Regions from separate parts of the Homo sapiens genome. Here region 2 is linked to region 1. Evidence: promoter capture Hi-C in 16 types of primary human blood cells and fetal thymus (Javierre and others, 2016). All regions are on one chromosome and are shown on one strand. The core of a region is centred on a gene start or on the middle of the fragment in contact, and the rest is flanking DNA. Distances in the headings are between cores, read along the strand shown. Region 1 has its middle 66 kb from the start of SDK2. Region 2 holds the start of LINC00469 (long intergenic non-protein coding RNA 469).

The links. Contacts are between HindIII fragments. The CHiCAGO score rates a contact against its expected background, and 5 or more counts as called.
Region 2: a contact is called between the fragment with the promoter of LINC00469 here and a fragment that was not itself captured in region 1, in 1 of 17 cell types (non-activated CD4 T cells). The highest score is 5.6, in non-activated CD4 T cells.

Annotation. Positions count from the first base shown.
Region 1 is chr17:73,708,185-73,712,107 of GRCh38, forward strand. No RefSeq gene overlaps it. Among named protein-coding and RNA genes, the nearest start is that of SDK2, 66 kb to the left of the region's middle. The HindIII fragment of the contact is 4,322 bases long and covers 1-3,921 here.
Region 2 is chr17:73,826,742-73,830,664 of GRCh38, forward strand. LINC00469 (long intergenic non-protein coding RNA 469) reads right to left here and starts at 1,796. Exons shown (of 4, transcript NR_027146.1): 1 at 1,707-1,796. RefSeq lists enhancers at 1,133-1,642, 2,633-3,134, 3,135-3,634. The HindIII fragment of the contact is 4,592 bases long and covers 1-2,330 here.

The DNA.
Region 1 (3,923 bases), core at 511-3,010:
GAACTCCTGACCTCAGGTAATCCACCCACGTTGGCCTCCCAAAGTGCTGGGATTACAGGCGTGAGCCACCACGCCTGGCCAGCTGACTTTCATAGAGATGTTCAAGGGGCTGCTTTGCCTTCTGGTTTCAGTTGGGGTAGACCAGTGGAAGGCATGACTGGAGATCAGAAAGCAAGAGGAGAGGGAACTGGAGTCATGGTTTCCCTAGGTCCCTCCTTGCAGGTACTGGGGTTGTCCACGCCTTTCTGCCTAAGCTGTCCTCTTATGCATCTGCTCTCGCCAATATTCTGGTACCTGCTCCCATCCATTACTGTTCATACCTGGAACCCTGGGTTGCTACACCATTCCTGGAGGGCTTCCCCTGCATTCAGCTCTCCCCACCCACCTATCTGAGCCTGCCCTCTGCTTCTCACCAGCACTGGCTGCTAGCCCAGCCCATGCCTTTCACCAGGTTCTCTGCCTGTCTCCTCAGACTGAAACATCATCTGACTTGCTATTTCGTTCTCAACTCTAGCTTTGCTCCTGGAAAAGTGTCCTTTTGGTCCCCATCAGTTCTGTGCTATGTAGCCATGGGCAAGCCCTTTCCCTCTGCTGTGCACTCCACCATTGTTCCAGATCCCAGCCCAGGTACATGTCCTGGCTCCCACTTGCCCAGATGAGCATATACTGACCTGATACTAACTGGAGACTCTTCTGTCTTTAGAGGATGGAGGAGGGAACCGAAAGAGTGGAGGAAGAAAAATACAAAGAAGTGCAAAGATGGGAGATGGATGGGACTCTCTCTGAATAGCCCCAACTTCCCTCTGGAGAAAATGGACAGTACCAGTGTCCTGGTCAGCCTTGGTACCCACTGGGTTTTCTCATTTGCACTGGGAGATGACACATCTTCTCTGCTTCAGCTCAGGATTACTACTTCCCGATCTCAGCCAGGTCCAAGAAGCAGGGATTCAGGACTTAGCATGTTTGCTTCTGTTGTTGCTCCTAATTTTCATAGTAGCCAAGCAGAGTAGACATTATGGTCCCTGTTTTACAGTTGAGGAAACTGAGGCGCAGACATTAAGCATCTTGTCCAAGGTCATGTGTTATTCCTATCAGGACTTGGACCAGAATCCTATCTCCTGACTTCAAATTCCAGGCTGTTTCTCTGATGCTGTAGTTCCTAGTTTCTGCTCTGAACTGACTTGCGTTCTATACGCTGAACCGAGGAGTCTGTTCTACAGGTTAATGGGATAATGACTGTCTTTCCTCAATTTGCAGATAGAATACATTAGTACATATAATTTCTTTGATTATTCTGTTGTTTTCCACATTTTTGTAGAGTCTTTTGGCACTTATCATCCTATCGTCAATACCTGAATCTCATATAAAATGGGATGTGATTTAGCGTGGCATTACACAGGTAACTCCAATACCTCAATAGCTCTCAGTGTGTTCTGCACAGACTAGGATGTACTTGCCCCATGCTTTAGGCCCAGATTCATGATTTGAGAACCACTTTTCCATGATTTTTTCAGTCCAGAAAGGCTAATCTAGACATTTTAAATTCTAGCATGACTAAACAGCAATGACTCCAGAAGTTCTGTGTTCATGCAGACTCCAGATGTGGGTCTGCCCCTGGCCTCCCGGGGGAGAGAACTGGGTTCCATGAGTTATGCCTTCAACAGGCACAGGAGTGGGGACTGTTGACTGCTTGCTGGTAATTTACACACCCTGACCCAGACCTGGCCTCCAGCAGAAGAAAAGAAGCTGATTCCAACCTGTCTTGGTTTTGGCTCTCCTTAGAACATCAAAGGTGTATGAAAGAGGCTGAGCTTGCCTCATCTCCCCCGCCTGTGTTAAGTGGTGATCAAGATGGCATTAGAGATGATCACATCATATTATTTAAACATGATTTTAAATAGCTGTAACAATGGCCAAGCTCCATCTGCAGACCTTGACCGCTGCCCAGCAAAGGGCAGTTGGTTGGCTTACACGATGAGAGCATTGCTGGCACGCAGGCTTGTCCGTCATCCTCGCTTGCTGGAACTCAGCAGCGAGTCTCTCTGAAGGTGACACAGGCTTTGGTGGGTGGGGTGTGGAGCACGGCCGGCTGCACCGCTGGAAGTGGGGCGGAGAGGAGCCTGTTACCCGGGAAGTTTAGGGGCATATGGAAGCAGTGACCCCTTCTGGCCAATGGAGGAATGACATAAATTTGCTAGCAAGGGAAGACAGGCGGAGAGGTGAACGGCCAGGGAGGCCTTGGCGGGGAAGAATGGACTAATGAGAATATCTATTATGACTCGTCTCTTCAGTTATTCCCTAAGTGGCTGTGTCATCCTATGCCAGCCATCAGAGGGAGGCAGAATAAAAGTGTGTGTCCAGGGAGGATGTGAGCATGACCATGAACCCTGGCCACTCTCATCTGGAAAGGGCTAGAAGGGAATGGGGTAGTGAGGACCAGCTGTGGAAGCCTCAGGGACAATGGGACATGCATCTGAGAATCTTGGGAGTGGCCAATGCTCCTGGTACTGGGAGGCTTGGGGTGCCGGAGGTCAGCAGCCACCCCTCCTCGAGCTCTGTCAGCCAGGGATTCCTGGAGATAGTTTCCACCGCCTTTGGAGAGGTGGGCCATCCTGGAGGCTGGTGTGAAACAGAGTCCTCTCCCTGTTCTGTCCTAGAGTCGGACAGAACAGAGTCAGGCTCAGCTCTTCTCAGCTGCTGACCTGCTCTGTGGTCAAAGACGGTAGCCCCTCCCAGCTTGGGTGTGCTCCCCTACAAAGCAAAGCAAAGCAAAGCAAAGCAAAGCAAAGCAAAGCAAAGCAAACAAAGCATGTAGCCCCTCCCAGCTTAGATGTGCTCCCTGCAAAGCGGGCAGGGTATAGGGCTTTATGGAGAAGACCCGTTGATATCATGGTTTCCAAAGGGCCTGACAGTAGGTGCTCATTACGACTCCCTTGCTAGCCCTGTAGGCCGGTCATTTCAGACTGCTCCGCAAGCCCCCCATGCCTCCCCGCCTTTGCACACACCATTCCTTCTTCTTGGACAACCTCTCCTTTCCTGGCCCATCTGGTCTACCTGGTCTACTCGGGCACATTCAACTTGTTCTTCAGGGCTTGGTTCAAGGCCTTCCTGGACTGCTGCCCTGATCGCCATGCAGAGTTAACCACTTCCTCATCTATGCGCCTCTAACACTGTAGCTATACCAAGCGCACTGTGGTACTTACTTATTTGCATAATAACATCATTACATTCTAAAAATGACAGCAGCTATGAATTGTTGGGCACTTTCTGTCTGCCAGGCACTGAATGGTGAGCGTGCTGTGGATGATCTCATTTCAGCCTCACAGTAGTCAGTGAAGGAGGTGCAATTGTTAACCTGTTTAAGGATATACTAAAAGGAGGTCTTGGAGAGGATAGGTCACTCACCCAGCCTCACACAGCTGCAGTGGTCCTCCACAAAAGGGCTTGATTTGGGGCATTTGCCAATTTCCATGGTGTAAATATTCCAAGGATGATAATTTTAAACTAATGATGCTTTGATGATGGGCTTGTAGTATTCCTGAAAATTTAGCCATAGGCTCCCATGAGCTGGTACAAACTGGCATGAACTGGTTGCAATGTGTCACTGCGACAGCTCTCTGTATCTCAGGAGCAGGGACTAGGTTTTAATAACTCATGACCCCGAGTGCCCTGCACAGTGACTGGAGCTTAGTAGCTGCTAAATTAATGTTGGTGACATGAGATGGATTTCAGAGCATAGAGGGCAGGGGCAGAGGCTGCCTGGATGGCGCACCCCAACAGGACACTGCCTTTCTCCTCCTCTGAGTGGATGTTGTCTGACAGACTCACATTTCAAACTGAGCGCAGGTGCAGTGGGCTGTCAGGGGCAGCAGAGGCCTCTGGGCTGGGAACAGATGTCACATCTGGGCATCTGACAGGAGAAG
Region 2 (3,923 bases), core at 546-3,045, 120 kb after region 1:
GTAGTTTAGACAAGTCCTTGAAGCAGGGCAGGTGGGGGAATGGGGAGGAGTCGGGGGCTCAGGCCCCCATGTTCCTCCCCAGCACAGCCTCACCTGCTCTGCCTCAGAGTGACTCAGGACAAAATCCCCAGGTGGCTCTGATGGTACTTGAAGTGACAGAGGGAAGGAGGAATCTGGAATGGAGACCCCAGCCCCAGGCCCTTGAGCTCAACCCAGCACCAGCCCCCAGACCTGTTCACTCTTTGGCCTTCCAGGGCCAGCCCCAGGCTGGGCTGTCACTGATGTGGGTGAGCAGGAGTGGTCCCCGTTCCTCACAGGGGCTTCTCTCTATGCACACCTCACATCATCCCCCGACCTCCAGGCATAAACCAGCCTTGCAGCCCTGACTCCAGACCTGTCCAGAGAAAGTGCCACCTGCCTGGGGAGCTGATGCAGATGAGAGGGAAGGAGAGAGAGACAGTGTCCCCTGCACCATGCCCTGAACTTCCCAAGGGACCTTCATCAAGCTCCCCTGGGGGCTGTATTGTTAAAATGCACAGATTCTTGGACCTCGACTCTGGACTTCCAGAAGCGAAATCTCTGCGGGGGTGGAGGAATTGGGCACTGATTCTAATGAAGTCCCCAGGGCAATCTCACCTGCTTTAGAGCAGAGGTTGGTACCCTGGCTGCACATCAGAGTCTCATGGGAAATCTAAACACATCCGTTCCAGGGCCTCACCCCCAGACCAAGCAGACCAGTGTCAGGGCTGGACATCAGGCATTCGTATTTTGTAAAAAATGATTAAAATGTGCACCCAGGGTTGAGAACTGCTTCAGAATTTGCAGACCTCCAGCTGGGTCTGACCCAGGAAAACAGGAAACAAGAGAGATGGTGTCAGCTGGGGCCCTTCACTGGTGGGGCCAGGTGGGTGGGGGGAACATCCCCACGATCCAGGCGACCCCCACCGCTGGCCAGGCAACCTCATGGCTGAAGGCGAGGAGGGACGCAGGCACGAGGGCCTTGGCGTAAGGAAGCTGGCTCTGCAGTCAGGCCCTGCCCTGGGGCTGTTCAGATGCCCAGGAGGGCAGGTTTATGCGAATGAAGCAATTACAGAACCATTTAAAAGAGTGAGGGAACTTGGTCCAGAAATGCCTGTGGAGCTTTCAAAAGGGGTGAGTGACCTCATCCAGCCAAGAAAGGGTCTGGGAGAGAAGCTGGAGGCCGAGGTCTTCAGTCTAGGCTAGGGGAGGGGAGAGAACGTTTAAGAGGGTGGCAGGCATTCCTGTCCCAAGTCACCAACTGGGTAGCGCTCTTGTTTGTCTTATGCAAGAGTGTTTAGATAAGAACAGGCTTTTGCATTTCAAAAAGGAGCCTGTTCTTCCTCGCCTTGCTTCTTCCTGTGCTGAGTAAACGGAAGGCACACCCTTGTTTCCCTCCCTATTCACAGCTCCTCTGTCCGCCACAAAGACAACCTCCTCCCCTTCTGCCCTCGTCTTCTGCCTGTGGACATTCAAGGGACCCCGCTCCTCCTTCATCCTTTCTCTCCTGCACGAATGAATCGTTTCCCGTGAATCTGCTCTTTGAAAAACCCCTTCCTAACTTCCATCTCTCTTCCTCTGCTCTCTTTGATGCCATCGCTTCTTAAAAGGGAGGCCTAGACTCACTGCTGTCTCACTTTTGTACGTTTATTTTCATCATGGTAAAATATACATAGCATAATATTTACCATTTGAGCCCTTTTAAGGTGTACAATTCAGTGGCATTTACATTCAAAACATTGTGCAACCATCCTGATGATCTATTTCCAGAGCTTTTTTTTTTTTTTTTAAATCATCCCAAACAAATTCTGGAACTGTGAGATAATAATGTCCCATTCTTTTCTCCTCCCAGTTCCTGGTAACCTCCATTCTTTCTGTCTCTATGAATTTGCCTATTGTAGAAACCTCGTGTAAGTGACATCATTCCATATGGGGCCTTTGTGTCTGGCTTATTTCACCTAACATCATGTTGCAGCAAGGTTCATTTCATTTCTTTTTATGGCTGAATAATATTCCCTCGTACAGATGGACAGCAGGTGTTGACCTATTCATCGGTTGTCTATTCGGCCTCCACAATCCACTGTTTTCATCCCTTCTTGCTGTCTCTACTTCTATGACCCTGGCCTAAGTCACCATTTTCTTCCACCAGAGTGCTCAGTGGCCTCCTCTGAGATTTCACTCTTTTTTTTTTCTTTTAAACAGCGTTATTGAAATGTAATTCATATATTATGTAATTCTCCCATTTAAAGTGGACAATTCAGGCTACTCTGCCTATGGAGTGGCCATGCTTTTGTTTCTTTACTTCTCTAATAAGCTTGCTTTCACTTAAAAAAAAAAAGTATACAATTCAATGGTTGCTAGTATATTCCATGTAGCTGCAATCGTCACCGTGGTCCATTTTACAGCATTTGTATCACCTCAAAAAGAAGCTCTGACCCTTCAGCTATCTCCCCTCCCCAACGCTCACCCTTACAGCCCTAGGCAACTAGTAATCTACTTTCTGTCTCTAGAGATTTGCCTCTTCTGGGCATTTTGTCTAAATGGAATCATACAATCCGTGGTCTTTTGTGAATGGCTTCCTTCACTTATCGTGATGGTTCCCGGGTTCATTCATGCTGTCCTATCGGCACTTCATTCCTTTCTATGGCCAAATAACTACCTCATTGTATGGATTCATTGGTGGACATTTATGTCGTTTCTATCTTTGGGCTATTACAAATAATGCTGCTTTAAACATTTTGTACAGGTTTCTGTATGAATATATGTTTTCGTTTCTCGTGGGTCTATACAGAGGAGTGGAACTGTGGGTCACACGGTAACTCTGTGTAATCGTTTGAGGACCTGCAGGCCACAGTGGCTGTCCTGCCTCCTCTCTTGCCTCTTTCAAAACTCCTCTTCACAGAGCAGCTGATGCGATCTTTCAAAAATGAACTTCAAATCATGTTTCATCTTTCTTGTAAAATCCTTCAATGACTTCCCAGCGTTCTTAGAATAAAACAAACATCATCACCATGGTCTACAAGACCCTGTGGCTGGGCACCAACTCCTTCTGGGACCATCCCTGCCTGCCTGTAGGGCTCCCGCTCCTTTGGGCGTCCCGGCCGCTGCTCCAGCAGGCCTAGGAACTTTCTCGTGAAGTCATCTGCGCTGGCTCCTCCCTCTGCTGGAACAGTCTTCGCTCTTGTTTCAGCCTCCTGTGGACGCTGTAACCAATTGCCATCAACTGGGTGCCTTCAAACAACAGAAATGGCTTCTCTCATCATTGTGGAGGCCCAGCTCTAAAGTCAAGGTCTTGCCAGGGGCCTGTTCCCTCTGAAGGCTGTGGGAGAGCATCCTCTTTGCCTCTTCCAGCTGCAGGTGGTTACCACCAATCCTCCGGGTTCCCTGGCTTGTAGCTGCATCGCTGCAGCCTCTGCCACTGTTGTCACGAGGCCATCTCCCTCTGCGTGTCTGTGCTTTCACTGTCTTTCCTCTGTGCATGGCTGTGTCTCTTCTCCCTTCATATGAGGACACAAATCATATTGGGTTAAGGGCCCATCTTACTCTAGTATGACCTCACATTAACTACATCTGCAATGATCCTATTTGCACATAAGATCATATTCTGGCAGGGCATGGTGGCACACGCTGCAATCCCTGCACTTTGGGAGGTCAAGGTGGGAGGATTGCTTGAGGCCAGGATTCAAGACCAGCCTGGGCAACACACTAAGACCCTGATTCTTTAAAAAAAAAAAAAAAAAAAAAAAATTCTGAGGTTCCTGGAGAAAATATGAATGGTGGTGGGGGCAGGGGAGGGCACTATTCAACCCTGTATAGCACAGTTCCTCATGTCCCAGCTCAGATTTCAACTCCTTCTCACCCACTATCCCCACCCCAGCTCCCCTCTCCCAGGGCACCTTTCTGGT